Regions from separate parts of the Homo sapiens genome. Here regions 2 and 3 are each linked to region 1. The links are contacts of gene promoters, found by promoter capture Hi-C in blood cells and fetal thymus (Javierre and others, 2016). All regions are on one chromosome and are shown on one strand. Each heading gives the region's core, a stretch centred on a gene start or on the middle of the fragment in contact. The rest is flanking DNA. Distances are from core to core; before and after follow the strand shown. Region 1 holds the start of PAQR3 (progestin and adipoQ receptor family member 3). Region 2 overlaps ANXA3 (annexin A3). Region 3 overlaps ANXA3 (annexin A3).

What was found. The method cuts DNA at HindIII sites, captures the fragments that hold promoters and counts their contacts. A CHiCAGO score of 5 or more calls a contact.
Region 2: a fragment that was not itself captured here is called in contact with the fragment with the promoter of PAQR3 in region 1 in 1 of 17 cell types (neutrophils); the score reaches 5.1 in neutrophils.
Region 3: a fragment that was not itself captured here is called in contact with the fragment with the promoter of PAQR3 in region 1 in 1 of 17 cell types (monocytes); the score reaches 5.1 in monocytes.

Annotation. Positions count from the first base shown.
Region 1 is chr4:78,937,060-78,941,081 of GRCh38, reverse strand. PAQR3 (progestin and adipoQ receptor family member 3) reads left to right here and starts at 1,644. Exons shown (of 6, transcript NM_001040202.2): 1 at 1,644-2,042. The coding sequence starts at 1,858. RefSeq lists silencers at 1,465-1,954, 2,045-2,114. The HindIII fragment of the contact is 16,646 bases long and covers 1-4,022 here.
Region 2 is chr4:78,554,665-78,558,686 of GRCh38, reverse strand. The region is part of intron 2 of ANXA3 (annexin A3); the gene reads right to left. Among named protein-coding and RNA genes, the nearest start is that of ANXA3, 4.9 kb to the right of the region's middle. The HindIII fragment of the contact is 9,514 bases long and covers 1-4,022 here.
Region 3 is chr4:78,607,721-78,611,742 of GRCh38, reverse strand. It overlaps ANXA3 (annexin A3), which reads right to left. Exons shown (of 13, transcript NM_005139.3): 13 at 1,296-1,687. The coding sequence ends at 1,628. Among named protein-coding and RNA genes, the nearest start is that of LINC01094, 36 kb to the left of the region's middle. The HindIII fragment of the contact is 3,917 bases long and covers 224-4,022 here.

The DNA of each region.
Region 1 (4,022 bases), core at 395-2,894:
GCCACTGCACTCCAGCCTGGGCTTCAGAGTGAGACTCTGTCTTCCCCCAACAACAACAACAACAAAAAATCTAGTAAGGTTACTTTCTGACTGTCCCTGCCTTTCCGTGGTCACAAAGGAGTTCTGACTTACCTCACCTGAAACTAGGTCATAAAACCCTCATTCTAGAGAGTTCCTGCCCCATACTCTGAGGCCAAGAATTTGAATGAACTGGCCTTGCTAGCTAGGATCCCCCCTCAGTTTATTATCATTAGATGATGCCCCCTTTCAATCATGTTTCTCCACAACTATCCACTCCTTTCATCAGACTTAGCATAAAAAGCCCATTTTTTCCTGGGTCTTTGTGTCTTCATTTCTGAAGACTCCTCTGTCACATAAAACTGTGTTAAATGAATTTATTATCCCTTTTCTTGTTAATTTTTATTATTTATTTTTTGAGACAAAGTCTCGCTTTGTCACCCAGACTGGAGTGCAGTGGCACAAACATGGCTCACTGCAGCCTCGACCTCCCAGGCTCAAGCAACCCTCTCACTTCAGCCCAGAATAGTTTGGGACTACAGGCGCCCATCACCACACCCGACTAATTTTTGTTTTTTGTTTGTTTGGTTGGTTTTTTTTGTAGCGACAGCGTCTCACTATGTTACCCAGGCTGGTCTCCAACTCCTGGGCATAAGCAATCCGCCTGCCTCGGCCTTCCAAAATGTTGGGATTACAGGCATGAGCCACCTGCGCCTGGCTTCTCTTAATTTTTTTCATAGGAATGTCAGCTGTGAACCTTGTGATAAGTGAGGACAAGATATTTTTCTTGCCCTTACAATGCCAAACAATGGACTAAGCGTTCTATTATACACATACGGTACTCAAACTGATGTTTTGCCCTGTTGCCATTATAAGTAAACACTTGCATTACAGTAAATAGCCAGAAACAAAGCTGCAACACTTCCTGTAAACGCTACTATAGCCGCACTCCACAGGATTTTTTAATATGTTCTATATTATTCAGTTAAGTAGATATTCTCATTTCCATTGTGATTTCTTCATCAGCCCTTGAAATATTTGGTGTATTGCTCCTATTCCAGACGTGGAGACTTTTAGTTTTCTTGTTACTCTAGTTTAATTCTACTGTGATCAGAGAACATAACGCTGAAAGGGGTCGGAGTTTTGAATGCACGGGGGCTTTCCTTTATGGCTCAGGATGTGCTCGATGCTGGTGTATGTTCCACGTGCATCAGGTTTCCTCTCTTTCCAATTATCGTGCTAAGAGCTGACTTCAGCTTAGAAATCCTCAAAGTCCCTTCTGACACTAAGTGTGTGTAATTCCAAGCATAAACTAAACGGTAATTACCTCGAACTTTTCTTCCTGTTAACTCTTTTCCTCTTGATTTTTCAAAATGCAGCAACTATTACTTCTAATAAAAAAACAGAAAAAGAAAAAAAATCCACTTGTATTCGCCTGTAGCTCTGTGCTTTCGGCTCTTCTCATATGCAAACGAAGACCCCAGGCGCCGCCAAAACACAGCGTGAGAGACGCCCGGGAGCCCGGGCCGCCGCCAGCGCACGCTCGAGCACACCCGGGCGCGCCCCAGCACCCTGCCCCTCCCAGCTAGGGCTGAGGGGCGGGGCCGCCGCGGCGCGCTGACGTCAGAGGAGGCTGCGACGCTGCCGGGTCCGCCGCGGCGCTGGCGGCAGTGGCCGGTGTGAGCGCAGAGCCGGGCCCTGGGCAGCAGCGGCAGCGCGGTAGGACCTCGCGCAGCGTCCGCGGGCTCCGGGGCGGGGGCGCCAGCGGCGAAGCCCCCTCCCCGGGGAGGCGGGACCTGGGGGAGCTCCCGAGCCGGGGAGCGGCGGCGGCCGGGAACGATGCATCAGAAGCTGCTGAAGAGCGCGCATTACATCGAGCTGGGCAGCTACCAGTACTGGCCGGTCCTGGTGCCCCGTGGCATCCGCCTGTACACCTACGAGCAGATCCCCGGGTCCCTCAAGGACAACCCGTACATCACCGACGGCTACCGGGCCTACCTGCCGTCCAGGCTGTGTATCAAAAGGTACGGTCTGGCTGCCTCCGCCTGGAGTGCCCCCTTCTCTCACCTACACCCTTTTTGTCTGGTCCCCCTTCTGCTTTCCCCGCCTTTCTGCTTGCCCATCATTTCCTCGCCGCCCCATCCTTTTCATCCCTTTTTGCCGCCTCTCCTCCCCCGTTATCTCCCCTTACCTGGCCGGGGTACTTGGTCCACGGAATAATCATGATAGTAACAGTGATCATAATTACAGCTCTCCTATGACGCTTTGCTCTTTACAAAGGGCTTTTACATCCTTTATTCGGTTTGTTCGGCTCATTGAGATATATATTGAAATGGGGCTGAGCCATATTTGCCCGGTGTATACCTTTCTTTTTAGAGCAACACTGTGGGAATTCAGTAGCTTTGGGCCAGATAAGTGCCTGTATAATAGGAAACAAGTTAACATATACACCCGAGATTTATTCATTTGGCAAATACTTATGGAGCCCATGCAGAAAAAAAAGCAAACATGGCCCTTGTTTTCATGAAGCTACTAAGGTGTAGCCTGGGTAACAGACATTAAATAGATAATTACACAATTACATAATAACCATTGTGGAAAAAATGCTGTGTAGGAAAAGTACTGTGGTAAAGAGAGCTCATAACGGGCACCCAGTCTCCACTAGAGCACCACAGAAGCATCTCTAAGAAAGAAATTTCTTTATCATTTTAAACCTTTAAAACCACAGTCCCTTGAAAATCCGTGTTTTAAAAAAACAAAACTGAAAAATAACTATTCTAGTTCTTGGAGTAACTGTCCAAACTTACTACCTGTACTAAAATACAGGACCTCTGCTTCAGGAGAATTAAGATACAGGTGTTGGTTAGCTCCAGGTCGCTGTAGTGGCAAACCCTAGTGCCAGAATGTGGGCTGTTGAATTGCTCAAGCGGCAACCACATGTCTGATTCTTGATTTTTCCAGCATTGTCTTTTCCTGCCCTTCTTTCCTTTTGTCCTGCCATGAAAGTGTTTCTGTGACTCATGGTCACAAGGTGACATCACTGCCCATCCCTACTTGGCTTGAATGGATGGCCCTTAGGATTCACAACTTGAAGCGTAATTACCGTTTTCCTCCCCAGTGCCTCCTGTGCATGAGTAAATTACACAGCTGAGTTCTGCTGTGGATCTGGAGTTCCACAAGAATAGGGCAAGCAGTGAATTGCCTTAAATATTTTCTACTCAACTAGCAGTGGTCTTCTGCGTTCTGATGTTAGGGTCCAAATCTCATGGAGTGGAAAATTAAGTATAGAGCATTAGCTCTTGAGCTATTGAGTCAAAGACTTTAGTATCCAAATCTGCCACTTAACAGCTCTGAGACCTGGAGCAAAATGTAACCTCACTGAGCCTCATTATACCCACATATAAAAATGAGGGTAATCACAGTATCTGCTTCCAGAGGTAAAAAAAGATTCAGTAAGATTCTGTGTGTGAAATGCTATACATGGCCTGGAACCTAATAAGCCGTCAATAAATGGTGATTGTTGTCATCACCAGTGGTTGTGAAGCTGAACAGATGATGATAATGAAGATGATTATTTGATTTTAAAACTGAACAGAATACGAAGATGTGGTGCTGGACTCCTGTTAACTTCAATAAGGATGGCACCAGGTTCGAAAGACGGAAGAAGAGACCCAAAGCCAGTAAACAAGACATAGGGTTTTACTAGGGTAATTTACAGAGAGGTCCAGTGACAGTGGCCTGAACGGGAGAACCTCTGCCGCCTGCAGAAAGCATGCAGTTTAAATAGCATTTTTACTTAGCACCCTTCCCCCTAACAACCTCCATCTGGTAATCTTCATTTGCAAAACAAAAGGCCTCCATCCCATGTACAGTCAGCATTCCATGAGATGGGACAGGGGCTCAGATGTTCCTCATAGATAAGGAATCAGTCTAAGGGTTGGCCGTGCTTGGAATTGTAAACACACATTCAAGTGTGTTTTTCATATAGGGTCATTCTCAGGGTA
Region 2 (4,022 bases), core at 513-3,012, 380 kb after region 1:
AACATAGATTGTTGATTCATCTGAAACAATGGTAGGGTTGCAACACTCCTAGATAGAATATAAAAGACCTAAGAAACCAGCCATTCTTTCATCTTCAATGGTAATGCATTGAAATTGCAACTAATGACTTCTCCCTTGATCATACCACTGTAATAAACTAATCATACACATAATCACGTATACAGTTTTGTAGAAATGCAATGACTTGATTGCTTATTTATGTTTGAGTGTGTATGTGGTTTTGTGTGGCAGAGAGAAAAAAAGAACACATAAAACTTTGTGATAAGAATGTTTACAATTGGAAATCTGAGGGTTTTTACCATCTTAACCATTTCTAAGTGTATAGTTCAGTAGTGGTTAGAATATTCACATTGTTTTGAAACATCTTCAGAACTTTTTCATCTTTCAATACTGAAACTCTACACATTAAACAACTCCTCTTTTTCTCTTTCCTTATTCATTCCTAACGACCAGTCTCCTTCTGTTCCTATGAATTTGACTGCTTTGGATACCTCTTATCAATGAAATCATACAGTATTTTGTCTCTTTGGGACTGGCTTTTTCACTTAACATACTGGGCTCAAGGCTCACCCACATAGTAGCATGTGACAGGGTTTTCTTCCTCTCACACAACATGTGTTTTTAAAAGACTGAATAATATTCCATTGTGTGTGTGTACCGCATTTTGTTTATTCATTCTTCTGTCAATGGAAACTGGGCTGCTTCTACCTCTTGGCTATTGTAAAAAGTACTGCAGTGAACATGGGTGTATAGATACCTTTCTTTAAGATCCTGCTTTCATTTCCTTTGGATATATACCCAGAAATGGGATTGCTGGAGCATGTGGTAGTTCTAGTTTTAATTTTTTGGAGAATTGCTATCTTGTTTTCCATAGCAGTTCTGAGTTGTTCCTAATGTTTGCTCTCTGAGCCACTCATAAGTATTAGTTCTTTAATTGAGGGAGAGGAGGTAAACAGGAAAAAAAAAAAAAAAAAAAGAAAAACCCAGAGACAGTAGGAGCCCTTCTTTGGCTAGGGCCTCTTTCTCCACGTGTGGGTTTGCCCTCCAGGCTCAGGTTAGCCTCCTGTTTTTGGCCCCTCCCCACCTCTTTCCTGCTATCTGATGCCAAATGCTACCATCCCTGATGTAGCCATACTCCTAGCCCCTGTGGTAGGCAGAACAACAGCCTCCTAAAATGTATACATCATAATCCTTGGGAATTGTCAATGTATTGTGTTTCATGATGAAAGAGACTTTGCAAACATAATTAAGGTTCCAGACCTTAAAACACAGGGATTAGCCCGTGTTATCCAGGTGGGCCCAATTTAATCACACGCACCCTTAAAAGCAGAGAAATGTCTTCAGCTGGAGGGAGAAGAGAATGGCAGAAAAGAGATCCCCCAGAAAGAAAAGCCAAAGAGATTCCAAGCATAAGTAAGATTTGATGCATCATTGCTGGTTCTGAGATGCAGGGGCCACATACAAGGACAGGCAGAGACCTCCAGGAGCCAAAGACAGCTTCTGCTGGCAGCCAGCAAGCACTAAGAACTCAATTCGACAACTACAAGGAACTAAATTCTACCAACAACCTAAAAGGGCTTGGAAGAGGATTCTTCCCAAAGTCTCCAGAAAGGAATGCAGTCCCAACAACACCTTCATTTTAGTGCTGTGTGACCCATTTCAGGCTTCTAACATATAGAACTGTGAGATAATAAATGGATGTTGTTTTAAATTGCTAAATTTATGATAATTTGTCATAGTGCAATAGGAAATGAATACACCCTTGATCACACGCACTTGGGTCTCTCCTAGCCCTTCAGAAATGTGCCACGCCTTTGAAGGTGTCAGCAGGAGAGCCTGCCCAAATAATTCCATGTTAATTTACTCATGGGCGAGGGCCAGAGGGCGACTTTTTTTTTTAACACCAGCATTTTGGAGAGATGCTTTTTTCATCTGATTCTATGATATGTTCATAAAAGCAGCAGGGATTTCAGATGAAAGATGAGAGTTTAGCCTCCTAGCCAGTGAGAAGGGAGTAACTTGGGCCAAACAAAGCCTTCCAACAGCACACCTTCCATCCATACGCCAGGCCAAGGGATGGTCACATCTCTGCACAGGCTTTTCTTTAAACTTGCCCTCCACCTTACTTATAAAATATAATGTATGCTCATGATTAAAAAAAAAAATCAAACAGTACAGAAGGTGATATATTGAAAAGTAAAATTCCTTTCTCACAATTCCACCTTTCCACAAAGTTTTGATGTAATAGTCTTTCCGTAAATTTTTTATTTTCTTTGTTCTTTCTTTTAAACAGAATCCCTCTGTACATATTACTCTATAAGTTGATTTTTTAAATTATTACATCTTGGGACTTTTTTAATGTCAATTCACATACAGCTGATCCACTTTTTTCCCATTCATTTTAATGATCACATAAAAATGCCTGTAAGTTATAAATGAGTAATTTACTTATTCCTACCCTATCGATGGACATTTATGCTGTCTGCATGTTTGTTTTCATTAATACAAACAAATGTACTTGGGCCCCTATTTTTTCAACCTTATGCAAGTTTATCTATAAGATACATACCCACAAGTGGAATTACTGGGTTTAAAGGACATGTGCATTTAAGGACTGAGAGATATTGCCAAAATACTATCCAAAAGTGTACCAAATTTACTCTCCCATGAACAGAGAATAAAAATATCACCTTGCCACATCCTCTACATTACTTTTTTTTTTTAACCTTCACCAATCTCTTAAGTAGAAAAGTGTTTCTCATCATGATATTTATGTTTTTTTCAATTCTGAGATGCAGGAGTTTTTTTTTTTTAATAGATAGGGTTTCACTCTGTCACCCAAGCTGGAGTACAGTGGTATGAACATGGCTCACTGCAGCCTCCACCTCTTGGGCTTAAGCGATCTTACCACCTGAGCCTCCCAAGTATCTAGGACCATGGGTACACCCCACAACGTTCAGCTAATTTTTAAAGTTTTTTTTTTTTTTTTTTAAGAGACTGGGTCTTGCCATATTACCCATGCTGGTCTCGAACTTCTGGGCTCAAATGATCCTCCCATCTTGGCCTCCCAAAATGCTGGGATTATAGGTGTGAGCCACTGTGTCCAACCTTGTAGCACCTTCTGATGTTATTGGACATTTATAATTCTTTTTATGTCCTGTTTATGTCCCTTACAACTTTTTCTGTCAAGTTCATTTTTTAAACCAATTTATTCAAGTTATTTGTATGTTAAGGAAATAAGTCTTTTGTCTAATGTGCTGCAAATATTTTTTCCCTGCGAGCTGTCTTCTGCCTCTACCAATGGGATTGTTGGCTGTCATAGTGATAAACTTGTATGTAGTTAAAATAGATCAATATTTTTCTTTTAGGCGTTTGGTTTTGTGTCACAGTTGTAAGCATCTTCCCCACTCCAAGAATATTCTTCAATCCATTCATATTTCTTTCTCTTTTTCTATTTTTTTGAGACGGAGTCTCACTCTGTCTCTCAGGCTGGAGTGCAGTGGCATGATCTCAGCTCACTGCAACCTCTGCCTCCCAGGTTCAGGCGATTCTCCTGCCTCAGCCTCCTGAGTAGCTGGGATTACAGGCATCTGCCATCGCACCGGGCTATTTTTGTATTTCTAGTAGAGACACGGTTTCACCATGTTGGCCAGGCTGGTCTCAAACTCCTGGCTTTAGGTGATCCACCCACCTCGGCCTCCCAAAGTGCTAGGATTACAGGTGTGAGCCACCACACCCGGCCCATTCATATTTCATCTTCTTCATTTCTGTATTTTATCCACATGGAAGTTATTTTATTGTAAGGAGAAAAAGGAATACAGATTTACTTTTTCCCCAAACAGCTAGAAGTTTTCCTAACATTTATTGAATAATCCGTCTCTTCTTCTCTGATATGTCATCTTTTTCATATAATAAATTCCCAAATTATATACTAAATTTATTATCTGATTTTGACCTTTCCGCCTTGGTGTCATCATAAGTTATTTTAACTATGTAACTTT
Region 3 (4,022 bases), core at 933-3,432, 330 kb after region 1:
GTGGTATAACAACTCTGAGGATGAATGAGATCTAAAATAAAGATTCACTGTATTAAATGCCTTTTATGTGCTGAGCACTGTTCTAATCTAAGCACTAGGCATTGAAAACTACAGTGGCCCTGGGATGGGATAAATTCTAAGGCAAAACAGTGGTTAAGAGCCTGGACACTGGAGTTGGACTACCTGGCTCTTACAGTGACAAGTTACTTAATTTCTCTAAGCTTCCATTTCCATTTCTATATCTGTGTTGGTATCTACATTGTAAGATGCCTTGAGGATTAACAAATTAAAATATACTACACTGTTTAACATAGTACCTAATACATAGTAAGCACTCTATGAGTATTAACATTGATTTATTGCTTCGTGATATACTTACTCACTAAATCACTTACACTAAAATCGTGAAGGCATACTTGACTGACACTTGGTAACTTTGAATACCATGTTTACTCAATTTTATCTCCCAAATATTTAAGTAGTTGTTTTCATTATCTCCTGCCATCATCTTAGTTATGACTGACATTTATAGTATTGATTACAGAACTAACTTGCCAAATGAGCTTCCTGACTCAAGCAATCCTCCCACCTCAGCCTCCCAAGTAGCTTGGACCACAGGCATGTGCCACCATGCCAGGCTAATTTTTGTATTTTTGGCAGAGACAGGGTCTCACTAGGTTGCCCAGGCTGGTCTCAAACTCCTGGGCTCAAGCAGTCCGCCTGCTAACCTCCCAAAGTGCTGAGATTACAGGCGTGAGCCACTGCACATGGCCAGTACGATCATTTCTATTCTGGTCCAGGAAAATAACTCTAACTGGAATTTTTTTCACTTTATCTATTTCATATCAGTCAAGGTATTTCATATTAGGTCCCACTCAAAGATGGCATGATGGATTCTTTAAATGCATAGTTTTGCCAACTCAAGAGAAAAGGAAACCTTAGAGGCTTGATTCTAAATGCCCATTCTGGGAAAGTAGTATTTAGCATGAAGCAACCATAATTCATGCTTGCCATTCAGACAGGAAGTGGTTAGATTAATCCTTCAGCAGATGTTTTCTGAAAGCTGAAATAACTTATCATGCATTACCACTCCTATAGCTTGATCACAACTACAAAGGGTAGGCCAGGGTCACATACATCTTCATCTTATTCCTTTCTTTCAAAAAAGTGTGATTAACAAGGTGATAAACTGAAGCAGTAACAGCTTCTATACAGAAACATGTTTTAAAATATTAGTTGTTGGCACCAGGCATCAAACAATGTTGGCAAGCTCTGAAAGCAAACAAAGAAATTACTTTTAACAAAAGCAACAATTTTTATTATCTTGCTTTATATTTAATGGAGTAGAACTATAAAGATTCTTAACTTTGAAAGCAGAAATATAAGTTGGATAGTAGTTGCAGATCTTTAATACCATTTTCAATTTCATTTATGAGCTGCTACATTATAAATGAGATGCTCTAAAATAATAATCGCTTTTGTTGTTGTTGTTATAGAACAATGAAAATTCCTGTTAGGAACACAAGTTGCTGTTTATATTTGCTTGTTCTCTTAAATAGTATGAGAAGAAGTAAGGTGGAGCTGTTGGGAAAGCCCATCGTGGACCTTTGGAGATTATCTTCTTGGTTCAGTCATCTCCACCACAGATTTTTAAGAGTGTGATTTCATAGTCTCCAGAAGTATCCGACTGCAAAGAATAAAATCAATGAAGAACAAATACAGTATAAATAATGGGAGACCATAAATGAATCAAATCCTATAGCACTAGGGAATTCACCTGGGTGTGAGACTCATGAGCTATACCATTTAGTAAAACATACCTGCAATTCCATCATTCATTCATACCTGAGTGTAATTACGTTCTGACCAGCATCTTCTTCACTGTAAGTAATATTTAGATTCTTCCTGATATACTGCAGTTAAATTTCAATTTTGGTTTAATAAAATAAGATTGCATCACTTACATAATATTGATTTCTATAAAAACTTCAAATTTTAGTTTTAATAATATTTATCGAACACTTGCTATTCAAAAGGCTTAATGTGTATTAACTACTTTAACCCTTTTAAAAGCTCTCTGCAATAGGTACTATACGTATCCCCCATTTAACAGATAAGTAAAATGAGAAAGACAGGTTAGGAAACTTGCCTCAAATCTTATCGAGAATAAGTGACAAAAGCAGGATTTGAATCCCTATATCCTGGCTCCTTAATACCCTGCTACACTGCCTAACTTAGGAAAGTGAAATGAACCACATTTTTAAAGAATATGTTTATCAGTTCCTTTTCCCAAGGCCAACCAAAAATAGACTGTTGTCCAGAAAAGATACTACGTGAGGTTGAGGCTTAAAGGGCAAAGATACCAAGTTTGTAACGCAAAAGACTTCACAGGAGGTAAAACTTGGCTTTCAACCTGGATTGTGTAAGATGCTCACATTATTTTTATTTTATTTGAGGTAACCCAACCAGTGAGCTCTTCTTATCACTTAAGTTTCACATTTGGAATGGCTGTTACTGGGGTGAATATTAGAGAAAGTGGTAATATAAAGGAAGTCTCAGAGAAGGCTCATTTAGTGAAGAAGTTAAGCATTACTTTCATAGTAAGACACAATAGGCCTTTATATATATTTTTCTGTTTTCTTTATTTCTTGTTCATTTGTCTGTTTCACAAAATATATGACAATATTCTTCGTTTTTATATAGATTTTAGTTCTTATGCTATTGGTTTTCCTGTCTTGCTCTGCAATAGCAGAGCTGACAAGTCAACAATGCTCCAGCTTTGTATTAAAAGAGCTCCTTCTAGACATCTCTGATCAGAGTTGTAAACAATTAGGCGTTCTACCAGTTAGTCAAGAAAATACATCCAAGTAACTCAAAGTATATTTACACCGCTAATGACTTACTTGACCTCTCCACATGTCTTACATGGCTCAAAGACATCTCAAACTCAATACATGTAAAACCAAACTCATAAACCTCCCCCCACTCCCCCAAAAGAAAAGGAAACAAACAAACAAACAAACAACCTAAAACCTGATCCTCTTGCAAGGAATGGCGCCACTGTCTGTTTTCCAAGTTAGGAACTTGAGTGTCATCCTTGCTATCTTCCTTTCCTCACACCAAGATATTATACCAAGTCCCTTAAGTTTCAACTCCTAAATATCTTTTGAGCCCTTCTTATTCTCCAGAATAAGAAGATCTTACAGGGATCTTTTCATGATCCTGATACTAACTCTTCAAGAGCTCATGCCCAGAACTCTTCAATGGCTTCCCCTTACTCTTAAGCTAAAGCCAAAATTCCTTAAACATTGCCAAAAAGGTCCTGCATGATCTGGCCCCCACATCCTCATTTTTCATTATGCTTCCTCCACCATGAGGCCTTTCCATTTGTCATTTCTTTTATTAGAATGTTCTACTGGCTCCCTTACCTCCATACATTTTGCCTTATTAATATCTACTTATTTTCCAGATCTGAATCATGACTTTCTCATAGAAGCCTTTCCTCTAAGTCAAGTCCTACTATTGTAGGATCTTTTAGCACAATGTCACTTTCCTTTACATTTAACATAGTTGTAATTCCATAAGGGCAGAAAATGTCTTCCCCCACCCTACCCCCTTTGCTTATAATTGTAACCCTGAGCCTAGCACATAATATGCATTTGATAATATTTTTAATTGAATGAGTGAATTCGCTGATCTCAAAGCTCTCTTTCAACTGAACTCATCTTGCTACTTGGATTTTATTTCTCAATATTCCCCAAGGTAGACCCTCTAATCAAACAAATGCCTTATTACTTCTTTCCCTCTTGCTTCTTCCCATATCTGTCTCTAGAGCATTTACTTTTAAGACCCTATTGATCTGGGGTCTTAAAGGTAAATGCTCCAGCAGAGCACCTGGCCCACAGGAGACACTCAACACATGCTTGTTGACCTGAAAGGCAGGCTCAAGACCCATTTCTCTAACCCCAAACTTCTTTTCTTCTCAATTCCGATAGTACTAGCTCTATATTCAACAATCTAGT